Regions from separate parts of the Homo sapiens genome. Here all the other regions are linked to region 1. The links are contacts of gene promoters, found by promoter capture Hi-C in blood cells and fetal thymus (Javierre and others, 2016). All regions are on one chromosome and are shown on one strand. Each heading gives the region's core, a stretch centred on a gene start or on the middle of the fragment in contact. The rest is flanking DNA. Distances are from core to core; before and after follow the strand shown.

Region 1 (4,043 bases), core at 1,152-3,651:
AAGCCTTTTTTGCTCCCTTCCTCATGCTCTGTTGGTCTCTGGGCTGCTAATGTGCCTGGTTAGCTTACAGATAAGTCTTAGATGCATTCGAGGAGAGGCTACTATAAACCCAAACCTGCTAGTTTTGGATTAGGTAAGTGTGCAGGGTTTGGGGGTCAGCCTCATGTATCTGTGAGGTAGATGGGAAGACAGAGCATGCAGGCAGCAGAACACTGTCCTAGTCCATCCCTACTGCTACAGCAAAACACCTAAGACCAGGTAATTTATAAAGTACAGGAATTTATTTCTCACAATTCTGGAGGCTGGAAGTCCAAGATCAAAGCCCCAGCAGGTTTGGTGTCTGGTGAGGGCCCAGTCTATGCCTCCAAGACGGCACCTTGTGGCTGTGTCCTCACATGGCAGAAGGTAAAAAGGCAAAAGGGCCTGGCTAGTTCCCTTAGCCCTTTTATAAGGTACTGATCCCACCCATGAGGGAGAAGCCCTCACGGGCTAATCACTCCTAAAGGCCCTACCTCTTAGTACTGTTGCATTGGGGATTCAGTTTCAACATGAATTTTGGAAGCAACACAAGCATCCAAACTATAGCAAACCCCAAGGGCTGGGTGAGGGGGCTCCTTGTGGGGAGCATAGAAAGAAGTACAAGACTCAGCTGTCTTCTCCCTGCGACATTCCTTTTCCCATCTCTGGAAGAGTCATCCGGATCCAGAGCCCTCACTATGGTGTGCTCAGAGGCCTAAGCTCAGACCACTCCTTCCCTGCTCCCTGATTAACACCCAGAGATCTGCCAGCCTCATTCCCCACTGTCCCTGTATCCAGCTCACCCCCAGGGACCACTGGGCACCTGGTCCATCACATTTTCCTGATGTTTCTAATGCTGCCCCTCCTGCATCCCTGTTCGTCTGATAAACTTGCCTTTAAACGTGTATATGAAGGACTCTTCCTCTGGTATCTAATCCTAACAGGTGCTAGATCCCACAGAGCCCTGTCCAGCTGGGGACTATGCTGACCTCTCTCCCAGATCAATATCCCTCTCCTCGGGGCTCAGCCTGGCCAGTGCCTGATGTTCTGGGATAGGAGAACTGGGGAGAGAAGGCCTAGGACCCTGCCTCTCACTTTTCTTTCCACCAAAAGGGGAAAAAAGAGGATCTGGTCCTCACACCCAGCCTTGGGATACTTATAAGATGCTGGGGATAGGGTGTGGGACAGGGCCAGTGAGAGCTGGGGATGGGGTGTGGGACAGGGCCAGTGAGATCTGTTTTCCTGCTGCTCCAGTCTGGGCCCTACAGCAGATGCATGCAGAGTAATATTTGTAAGACTGAAATATTCCAAATGCAGCTACTTTGGAAGGACCATGTGAGCAGATATCTAAGTGCGTGGCATCTGGGCCCCTTGGCTAGATGGTGGTCGATGTTGGTTTCTTTGTGTTAACCCCAAGAACATTCAGTAGCTCAGGGTTTGCAGAGGTTCTCAGGAGCACATCTTAGCCTCATTGGTGGTGTGAGGCAGGCAGGGCACAGGTCACACTGATGAGGACACCCGGGCCCAGAGACATTTAGCAACCTGCCCAAGGGCATCTGTAGTTCAGTGAGAGGTGGAGCTGGGACTGAAATCTAGGCTGCCTGAGTCCCAGAGATGGTCTTCCCTGGACCCAGGGAGCACTGTATCTTTTTCAGGGAAGGCCTCCTGACCACAACCATTTCATCTGTCACAGTACAGAATAGGAAGTATGGGTCAGGCATCAGAAGATGTGAATTCTGGCTCTGCCTTTTCAGAGATGGCCCTGCCTAGTTCCTTGGAATAAATGATGATGTCTTCCCCAGCCTCAGTTTCCTACACTATATAAAAAGAGAAAGCAACATCTAGGTAGGTTGGAATGGGAGTACATGAGGTGGTGGCCACTTTGCTAGGGTCACAGTAGACTCCTCACCTCCTTCCCCTTGTCTTCCTCTCACTAGGTAAAAGACAATTGTATTGAACTCTTAAGAAAATTGGACTCCAGTCCCGGCTCCACCTTTACTTCCCTGGGCCTTGGTTTTCCCACCACACAGGAGTTTGAACACTTTGATTTCTGAAGTCCTTCCCACCTCTGGGGTTCCAATATTCTGCTCCTTTTCTCCTCTTCCTCCTCCCCCTCCTTTCTCCTCCTGCTCATCTGGGGTTAGGGAGATTGCGTGTATGTGTGTGCCTGTGTGTACACATGCATGTATGTGTGTGCACGTAGTGGCAGCAAGGAAGAGGAAGGAAGGAGTCCTGCAGGGGTTGGTGGTGGCAGTTGGGAGAAAAGGAGGCAGGACTGTATGTGCCAGCAGGGCTCAGAGTTTTCTCACCAACTAATGGTGCTTGGGGCAGTTTAATCATTAAAGGAAAGGAATGAAGCCAGGAGCGCCTCAAAGTCCAGCCTGCTGTTGACCAACACTAACAGATGAGCAAGGAGCTGGCAGCAATGGGGCCTGGAGCTTCAGGGGACGGGGTCAGGACTGAGACAGCTCCACACATAGCACTGGACTCCAGAGTTGGTCTGCACGCCTACGACATCAGCGTGGTGGTCATCTACTTTGTCTTCGTCATTGCTGTGGGGATCTGGGTAAGTGGGCCCTGAGGCTGGGGCTAGCAGGGGAGGTAGTAGTGGTCTCTCAGCTTGGGTGGGGCTGTGGAGCTGGGGCAGGGCTAGGCAGAAAGAAGCAGATCATAGAACCATGTGGCTGAGAAGGAAGGGCCTTCAGGAATCAGGCTCCTGATCTCCTCATTTTTAGAAGGGCAGAGAGGGGTGTGGCTGGTCTGAGGTCACACAGAGAGTCAGAGGCAGACCAGGCCCCCGACTCCTGACTCCTCTCTGAGCACCTGCTGCCTTTGGCCCCAACCATCCCTGGTTGCCCTGAGCCTCACTCCTTCCTTCTTCCCACCCCAAGGCCCCCAACTCTGAGAACTCTTGACCCCTGGCCCTACCTCAGTCCTGCATTCGTTAGCATCTTGGCTAAGGTGATTTCTAAATGAGAAGGGGCTCATGTGCTCTCAGGGAAGTGTGCCAGGCTTATTCCAAGGTTCCTCTGTTCTCCATTGTTCCCAGGAGCCTCAGTGCTAGAGGCAGGGGCCAGGCTTTGGGGTCAGGGAAACCTGAGTTCAGGTCCCAGCTGCAACAATGAGAGCCTCATGTCCCTGGGAACATATGAGGCCTATCAGCTTTCTCAGGTGAACAATGAGAATAAGGACTATGCTGTGATCATTCAGCAACAGGACATACTGCAGCACCTGGCACGGTGCCTGGTGCCCGATCAGCAGGCAATAAATGGCTGCTATTATCACCACGCATTCCACAGAAGTGTGAGCACCTTTAGACTCTGCTGTGATTCAAGTCCCAGATGGTCACTTCCTAGGCTGTGGCCAGGTCAGAGACCCTCTCTGAGCCTCAGTTTCCTCATCTATAAAGGGGGGTGAACAGTCCCTGCCTTCTAGTGCTGGTGTGAGGAAGAATTGGGCTAACAGATGGTCACTGGCTCCTGGAAGTGGCCAGCCGAGAAAAGCACCAACTCCTCTGTGACTTTGGACAAATTGCTTCCAATGTTGGGCCTCCATTTTCACATCTGTAAAATGGATCTGTTTTGCTCGTATGGCCTCCAAGAGGATCAGAGCTGACAAGGAAAATACAAGCAAAAGCTTAACAAGCACAAGGCCCCACACATATTTATCACTCCCTCGTGACTGATTATTTTCCCTTAGGGGAAAGTCAGAGAACTGTTGGCTTTTGCATCTGAATAGCTGCTTCAAGTTCATCCTTCCCTACCCACTGCCCTGCCCTCACCCTGTATCTCCAGAGAATATTCCAACAGGCTGCTAACTGACCACCTACTGGTGTAAGACAGGGAGGTCCTGGATGGGGCTCAGTGGCGTGATCTGATTTCAACCCAGGGCAAGGGAAACTCCAAAACAGTACCCATAACTCTACTCAGGGCTCAAAGTCTCACAGTCAAACTGCAGCCCTCTCTGTCCTCCCGCCTCCAGTGTGGGAGCTCAGCTGGGAGCAGGGAGGGGATCAGCTCAGAGAA
Region 2 (4,043 bases), core at 554-3,053, 300 kb after region 1:
CGCGGACAAATGACCACCTGATGTTGGTAAAGACCCTGTTACATTATTAGTCAGTTATAATGAGGGGCCACATTACCCATTTATAATGTATGTCAGGGTGTTGGTTTGACTGACTTAGAAATACTAAGCGTAAGAGTAATGTGGATGTGACTGAGAACAATACCTACCCTCTGTGGGACACTTTCATTTGGTCTTTATTTATATCTTCTCATCATCCACCCTTCACAACCTTCCTGTAACCCAGACATTAATTAATCTCATTTTTAAAGTGAGTAAACAGGTTCACAGGGATGGCTCAAGGCCACATCGTGGCAGAGCAGGACTCTAAGTTTGATCTGTCAGACATCAGATTCCAGACTCTTGTGCCCACATCTCTGCATGAGTCTATTACAACATCCAGTCAGAAGCCCAGTTCTCCAGCTGCTTGACAAGCAACTTATAATGCACACACTTGAAATCAGGGTATGCTGTCTCACAAGGTCTAGGTCAGCCATAGCAGGCCTGTGCAGGGAAGGCATAGTAAATAAGACACGGTCTATTTATTACTCACTGTTAATCAACACTTAAGATAAAACACTGCTTTATTTATTCTCTTTGGCAGCTCAAGTGTGCTCCATGGTGCCTACTGCACGGTGATGTTAATTAGGTCCTCAGTACTGCATCTCTTGTATGCAAGGTTCGTGGTGTCACCAGCTCGTCTCACCTCTCCAGAGGTCTCTGGTTCAGCATTAAGTCTGAGGACAGAAAGAATCTTTGGAAGGCGGGAATCACCACCAGAGTTGCTGAACTAAGTATGAAACTTCACTACCATACAAAAATTAGCTGGGCATGGTGGAGTGCACCTGTAATCCCAGCTACTCAGGAGGCTGAGGCAGAAGAATCGCTTGAACCTGGGAGACAGAGGTTGCAGTGAGCCGAGATCGTGCCACTGCGCTCCAGCCTGGGCGACAGGGCAAGACTCCATCTCAAAAAAAAAAAAAAAAGAAAGAAACTTCACTACCTAGTCCTCATTAGGGTTTAGCAACCTGACATGCATACTGGGGTCAGTGTGAGATCATTTTTAGGGTAGGCAAGTGGGTTGAAGGGGGTGTTCCTAGAGACCCAAAATGGCAGAACTGGAGGAGCCCTTAGTGATCACCTACTTCAACAGATTCCATTTTGTAGATGGGAAAACTGAGGCTTAGAGAGGGAGAGTGACTTTTCTAAAGTTATATAAATGCTGGGAACATATTGCGATTAGATTCCAGGTCTCTCTGCTTCCAGTTAAGACTCCTTCTAATGGATCATTTCTAGGCCTTTGTCCCTGCTCCTGATGTCCTCACTTGTCCCCATCCCCTTCCTATTGTATGGCTACAGAATGGATGCATGCAAAGTACTGCCTCTAGTAGGAACTCAGAGAATGTGAGTTCTTTCTCCCCACTACATTCACTTTCCCTGAAATTCCTCAAAGTAATCCTGTGATTTAGAAACAGCAATAATGCTTAATTCCATTCTGTGGGTGAGGAAGTTGAGGTTCAAAGAGGGGAAATGACAGCAGCTGAATTAGGCTTAAATCCAGGCTCTGGGTTAGTGCTCTTTCAACCAAACCACATGGCCTCCCTAAGGATAAATGAATAAAAGAAAGAATGAATATTTAACTTAGAAAAGAATGAATTAAGGCATGTATGGCAAACAGGCTTAATGTTTGAAAGTCCCCACCCCATGTATTTGCTTTTCAGTAAAGGCAAAGTCTCAAGCTCCGTGGAGCTGCTCTTTAGGCCAGAGCAATGTACAGTCATGCATTGTTTAATGACAGGGATACGTTCTGAGAAATGCATTGTTAGGTGATTTCATCATTGTGTGAACATCATAGAATGTACTTACACAAATCTAGATGGTGTGGCCTGCTATACACCTAGGCTACATGGTACAGCCTATGGCTCCTAGGCTACAAACCCGTCAAGTATGTTATTCTACTGAATGCTGTAGGCAATTATAACACAATGCTTGCATTTGTGTATCTAAAAAAATCTAAACATAGGAAAGGTACAATAAAAATATAGTATTATAATCTTATGGGACCACTGTCATTCAGGTAGTCTATCATTGGCTGAAACATTGTGAGGTGGTGTGTGACTGTATTTCACAGCTGTGTGCCCTTCACTTTTGACCACCACCTGGTATTCGACCTATTTTAGAGCAGGCCCTCAGTGAGTGCTTCTGAAATTGAACAGAAACAAACCCCCTGGAATCATGGAATTTCAGCTCCAGGAGCACTTTGGAGAGGTATTAGGGGTATTAAGGAGAACTACCTCTCACTTCTTCATAACACCACACAAGCAATGTTTTTCAACCTTTAGTCAAGGCTGATCTGAAGAGAGAAAAAAAAAGAGAAAGACAGGAACACAAAGCTGAAATACAGAAAAGACACCTAAACACAAGATCACCTGGAGACAGAGTCTGAAAAGGGGGTTCTTGGTGAGCTCTCCACCCCAGAGGGACTGGCTTGGCTGAATCAGCCAGGATCAGCCTTCACTGGGACTGGGAAAGAGGAGAGGTGGCCCTGACATCGTGCTGAGCACAGTCCCTGGGAGGCTGGGGCAGAGGGGTGATCCATTAATATGGATGAAATGTCAAGAAAGTAGACAGAATTTCAAACAGCAGCTTAACCCAGGACCTCTGACTATGAGTAGATGTAAAAAAATCTGCTTAGATTTGACAATGATCTGTCATCTAATATTCAGTAAAAACATTCACAACTGAACAAACTTATGCATTTTCACACACAAATATAAAGAAGTTATTCATATAAGATGTTCACATAATGGTAGCACACACACACACATACATTCAAATACATCATAGTCAATTTATCTCTTTTACCTGTCGTAGTCTCTCCCCAGCTTTCTCCTTTTTTTTTTTTTTTTGTTTTTGCCCTATGGATACTATTAGCCTAAAGTCTCACAACTTCCTATATGGGCCTATAAGCTAGGTTTGCTCCACTTTATCCAGAAGTTTCAGGGTTGCTTTTATTTGTGAACTTCTGGAGGGAGAGAGAAAAGGAGGGGTGTCAGCATCACCAAAATGTTCTGCTTGGAGCAGGCATCCTCAGTCTCATTTTCGCCACCAGCAGCAGCAGCAACAGCCACAAATTCTCTGTGAATGGCTTCTCTGTCTCTGGCCTTATGCTAAGGCTCTTGGGCCCCATAAATGAGTAAGACTGTTTTTGGCCCTCTCTAAACATCTCAGTCCAAGAAAATGGAAAGTTGAATTGGTAAGAGAGCTGATACACAATAAAAGTGAAATACCAAAGCCATTACCAAGTGTCAAATGAAATGTGTTTAGACAGTGGTTCCCTAGAAGCTCAGGGCCAGTGCACCAGGAAAGACTTCCTGAAGGAGGGGTCTTGTAGAATCAGTAAAAATCAGGGCAGCAGAGAGGAATGGGGAGGTGCCTAGCAAACACAGATGCTTCATTATTTGTGTTGGATAAATTAGTGATGAGACACTTCAGGTTAAAAGCATGGATGAAGTAGGGAACTTCATGAGGTCTCAGAAGAAAGAAAATATTGGAAAATGTTTTTCAAAATACCATACTTTCCCATTTATCTTCTCAGTTGATCCTCACGATTCTCTTTTTCTTTTATTTTCTGCTGAGGATTATGTCAGTTGAAGATTATGTTCCCATACCAAACAGTAAGAAACTGAAACCAGTTGAAGCTCTGGGGTTACTCCATCCAGGACAAGAGACTTACTTAATGTCTAATACAGCCAGGCAGTATCAGAGCTGGGAGCAGAACCCAGTTTCCTAACGGCTACATCTTTAAATCCATTTGACTTGACAATTTGAGTCTGGGAGTTGAGGATAGAATGTGGCTTGGGTTAGAGGAAGAGGAAGACTTTGGGATATTTCCTGGGAAAACTCCCTCTAGTTAGTGACATAGCACCCTCTTTATAACGCAGGAGTGTGGGAGAGGTGGGTTAATAGAAGGAGCTGGGCGTCCTTTGCACCACTCCATCCTAATATCCTGGCAAAGCACCTCGCTTGTTGTTACAATTCTGAGG
Region 3 (4,043 bases), core at 446-2,945, 280 kb after region 1:
TTGGGTCATAGCCTGAGAGTATTGTCAACTGAATTATATAACACCAAATTATTTTTCAAAATCATACCAATTGATGTACTTAGTGGTGGAAGAGTTCCCATTGCTCCATACCCTTGCCAACATGTGGTACTATCAGACTTTTAAATTCTTGTTAATCTGACGTTTTTAAAAGTTAACTTAGTTGGATTGTGGTAAGAACACATAATCTGAAATCTACCCTCTTAACAAATTCCTAAGTGTACAGTACTTATTGTTGACTATAGATACAATGTTGTACAGCTGATCTCCAGAGCTTATTCATCTTGCTTAACTGGAACTTTATGCCCACCAATTAGTCATTCTCCACTTCCTCCTCCCCACACCCCTGGCAACTACTCTTTCATTCTATGAATTCGACTATTTTAGATACATAAGAGGAATTCTGTAGTATTTGGTTTTCTGCAACTGTCATATTTCACTTAGAATAATGTCCTCTAGGTTCATCCATGTTGTTGCATATTGCAGAATTTTCTTCTTTTTTTAAGGCTGAAGAGTATTTCTTTGTATATATATATACCACATTTCCTTTTTTCATTCATCTGTCAATGGACTTTTAGGTTGTTTGCACATCATGGCTATTGTGAATAGTGCTGCAGTGAACATAAGAGTGCTAATATCTTTTTGAGATCCTGATTTCAGTTCAGTTGGATCTTTACCCAGAAGTGTGAGATCCTGATTTCAGTTCAGTTGGATCATTACCCAGAAGTGGAATTGCTGGATCATATAGTAGTTCCATTTTTTTTAGTAACCTCCATATTGTTTTTCAAACAGCTGCACCATATTGCATTCTCACCAACAGTGTGCAAATGTTCCAGTTTCTCTATATCCTCACCAACACTTGTTGCCTTTTTATTTTTTTTTAATTTTATTTTTGAGACAGTCTCACTCTGTTACCCAGGCTGGAGTCCAATGGTGCAATCTCAGCTCATTGCAACCTTTGCCTCCCAGGTTCAAGCAATTCTCCTTCCTCAGCCTCCCAAGTAGCTGGGGTTACAGGTACCCGCTACCATGCCCAGCTAATTTTTGTATTTTTAGTAGAGACAGGGTTTCACCATATTGGCCAGGCTGGTCTTGAACTCCTGATCTCAGGTGATCCACCTGCCTCAACCTTCCAAAGTGCTGGGACTATAGGCGTGAGCCATTGCGCCTGGCCTCACTTGTTGCCTTTATGTCATGTGGCTTTAATTTGCATTTCCCTAATTACGAATCAGGTTGAACACCTTCTTATAAGAGTTTTGGCCATTTAAGTTTTTTTGATCACTTGTCTACAGAGCTTTTGTGCAGGACATCTTTCAGTTGCACCTCCAGATCCATTCACAACTTCTTTACTCTGCCTTTTGTCCTCGGAGGCTGACCCAAATGGATTACAGACATGGGATCCTTGACCTCTAACTTCAGCACTTGTTGAGCACTGAAGGGAGGAAGGGAAGGGAGACTGGAGTATTTATTCCACCACCTTCCTCTTTGCAGAGTCAGAAGGGGCTGACTGCATCCTTTGACCACAATTTCTGGAAGGCAGCTCTCTGCAGCAACTCTTTGTGCTTCTAGATTCTAGGGACTGTTATGTCTCCTTGTCCTTTCAGACTTGGAGGGGTAACTGTGGTCTCCCTACACCCTACTCTCAATCTTGTAAATTTATGTTTGTAAAACTCTCCACAAATTTGTCAATATGAGTGTTCCATCTGTTTCTACAACACAGTTGATTACTATTTTCTAATGAATTTTCAGGAGTTATTTATTGTGTTTTGAATATTCTCCTTTGTTGATTATATGGGTACAAATATCTTCTCCCACTCAAATCGCTTTTCTTTTTTTTTTTTTTTGACAGGGTCTTTCTGTGTTGCCTAGACTGGAGTGCAGTGGCGTGATTTCAATTCATTGCAACCTCCACCCCCAGGGCTCAGATGATCCTCCCACCTCAGCACCCCCAGTAGCTGAGAGGACAGGCATGCGCCATCACACCCACCTAAATTTTTGTATTTTTTATAGAGACAGGATTTCACCATGTTGCCCAGGCTGGTCTTAAACTCCTGGGCTCAAGCAATGCACCTGCCTCAGCCTCCCAATGTGCTGGGATTATAGGCTTAAGCCATCGCACCCAGCCTCAAATCACTTTCTTAATAGTGACTTAACACTTCTTTATTATAAAATAAAACACATATACAGAAAAGCACATGAAACAAAGCTACAGTTGAGTAGATTATTGGATTATTTTAAGGCAAACAGCCCTATAGCTACCGCCAAAGTCAAGAAATAGAACATCGCTAACTAGCTCAAAAGCCCTTCATATACCCCATCACAGCCTTCTTCCTCCCCTCTCAAAGTAACCATTATCTTTAATTTTTATAGTAATCACTCTTTTGTATTTCTCTATAGTTTTATCATTTAGGGTGAATCTCTAAATAATACAGATTGGTTCTCCCTGTTTTATATGTTTCACAATCTCTTTAAAGTATCCCCCTCTAACTCCCCATCCTTACACTTGCAATTTATTTTGGATGATCTTAGGTTATTTGATGTTTAGGTGACTTAAGTCTCAGTTTTACTGATTGATCCCTCATGGTATAGGTTAATAAGTTTCTCTGCATTTCATGAAAATTAGTAATTGAATCTAGAGACTTGTTCAGATTCAGAGTTTTTTGTTTTTTTCAAAATATAGATAGTGACGTGTTCTCTCAACAGAAAGCCCATAATGTCTGTTTTTTTCTGTTTTTGATAATGATGGTTAATTTTATGTGTCAGCTTGACCATGAGATGTGCAGATGTCTGGTTAAACAGTATTTCTGGAAGTGTCTGTGAGGGTGTTTCCAAATGAGATTAGCATTTGAATTAGCATAATTCAATTTGCCCTTCTCAGTGTGGGTGGGCACCATGCAACACATTGAAGGTCTGAATAGAACAAAAAGGCAAAGGAAGGTTGAATGATCTCTTTCTGCCTGACGGTTTGAGCTAGGACATCAGTCTTTTTCTGCCTTTGGATTGAGACTTACACCCTCAGCTCCCCTGGTTCTCAGGCCATTGGCCTGAACTATGCTGTCAGCTTTCCTGGATCTCCAGCATACAGACAGTAGCTCATAGGACATCTCAGCCTCCATAAGCCAATTCCTCATAATAAATCTCTCTCTCTCTCTTTATACATAGTTAGCTAGCTAGAGATTTCCATTGGTTCTGTTTCTCCAGAGAACCCTGACTAATACATTGCTGTTAGCACAGTTTCCAGTTCTCACAAGAAAGTCAGGATAAAATTTTTATTCTTTCTATTTACCAGTTTCCAAGATAATGATTTACTCAAGATAATGAGCTGTCCTATCATTCCATGAAACGAAATCATTTTTTACTGAACTAATAATGGATTTAAACATATTTGGCATTTTTAAGCCATTGCAGTTGTTACACTTATTGAAGCCCAAATTGTCCCTTCTTTAGCCACTGAGAGTGTTACAAGCTGACTCCTCAGTCCTTTTAACTGGCCCTTAGTAGTCTTCAACATTGTTTTTGCTCTATGGTTAGGCAAGATGTTCCAGGTTTATCTGGAATATTTTCTGTCACAGACCCAGAAGAAGACATTTTTCTGAGAAGCCCTAATTTCTTTTCATGAGAAATGGTGTTTTAAGACCACCTTGCAGGCACCAGGGATGCTCACTACTACTGGACCTGTCATTGTTTCTAGGCCTACTCTAGATGCTGTTTATCAGGTTGATAAACTATATTCTATTCCCACTTTGCTGACAGGTTTTTATATTTTGGTTTTAACCATGAATAGATGTTGAACTTTTGTCAATGCTTCCTCCACATCTATTGAAATGATCACATAAATTTTCATTTTAATTCTAATTAGTGAATCACCCTAATTTCAAATGTTAAAAACCAACCTTGCATTTCGGGGATTTTTTGACTTGGTAAAAATGTCTCACCCTTTTTATACAGTGCTGTATTTGATTTGCAAAACTTTTCTTGAGGATGTTTGTGTCTGTATTCATAAGAGATATTGGTCTGTAGTCTTA

What was found. The method cuts DNA at HindIII sites, captures the fragments that hold promoters and counts their contacts. A CHiCAGO score of 5 or more calls a contact.
Region 2: a contact is called between a fragment that was not itself captured here and the fragment with the promoter of SLC5A9 in region 1, in 1 of 17 cell types (neutrophils). The highest score is 5.5, in neutrophils.
Region 3: a contact is called between a fragment that was not itself captured here and the fragment with the promoter of SLC5A9 in region 1, in 2 of 17 cell types (neutrophils and monocytes). The highest score is 11.6, in neutrophils.

What each region holds. Positions count from the first base shown.
Region 1 is chr1:48,220,315-48,224,357 of GRCh38, forward strand. SLC5A9 (solute carrier family 5 member 9) reads left to right here and starts at 2,402. Exons shown (of 14, transcript NM_001011547.3): 1 at 2,402-2,584. The coding sequence starts at 2,423. The HindIII fragment of the contact is 4,425 bases long and covers 1-3,652 here.
Region 2 is chr1:48,521,959-48,526,001 of GRCh38, forward strand. It overlaps a transcript of AGBL4 not described here. Among named protein-coding and RNA genes, the nearest start is that of SPATA6, 52 kb to the left of the region's middle. The HindIII fragment of the contact is 5,195 bases long and covers 1-4,043 here.
Region 3 is chr1:48,504,159-48,508,201 of GRCh38, forward strand. No RefSeq gene overlaps it. Among named protein-coding and RNA genes, the nearest start is that of SPATA6, 34 kb to the left of the region's middle. The HindIII fragment of the contact is 5,146 bases long and covers 1-4,043 here.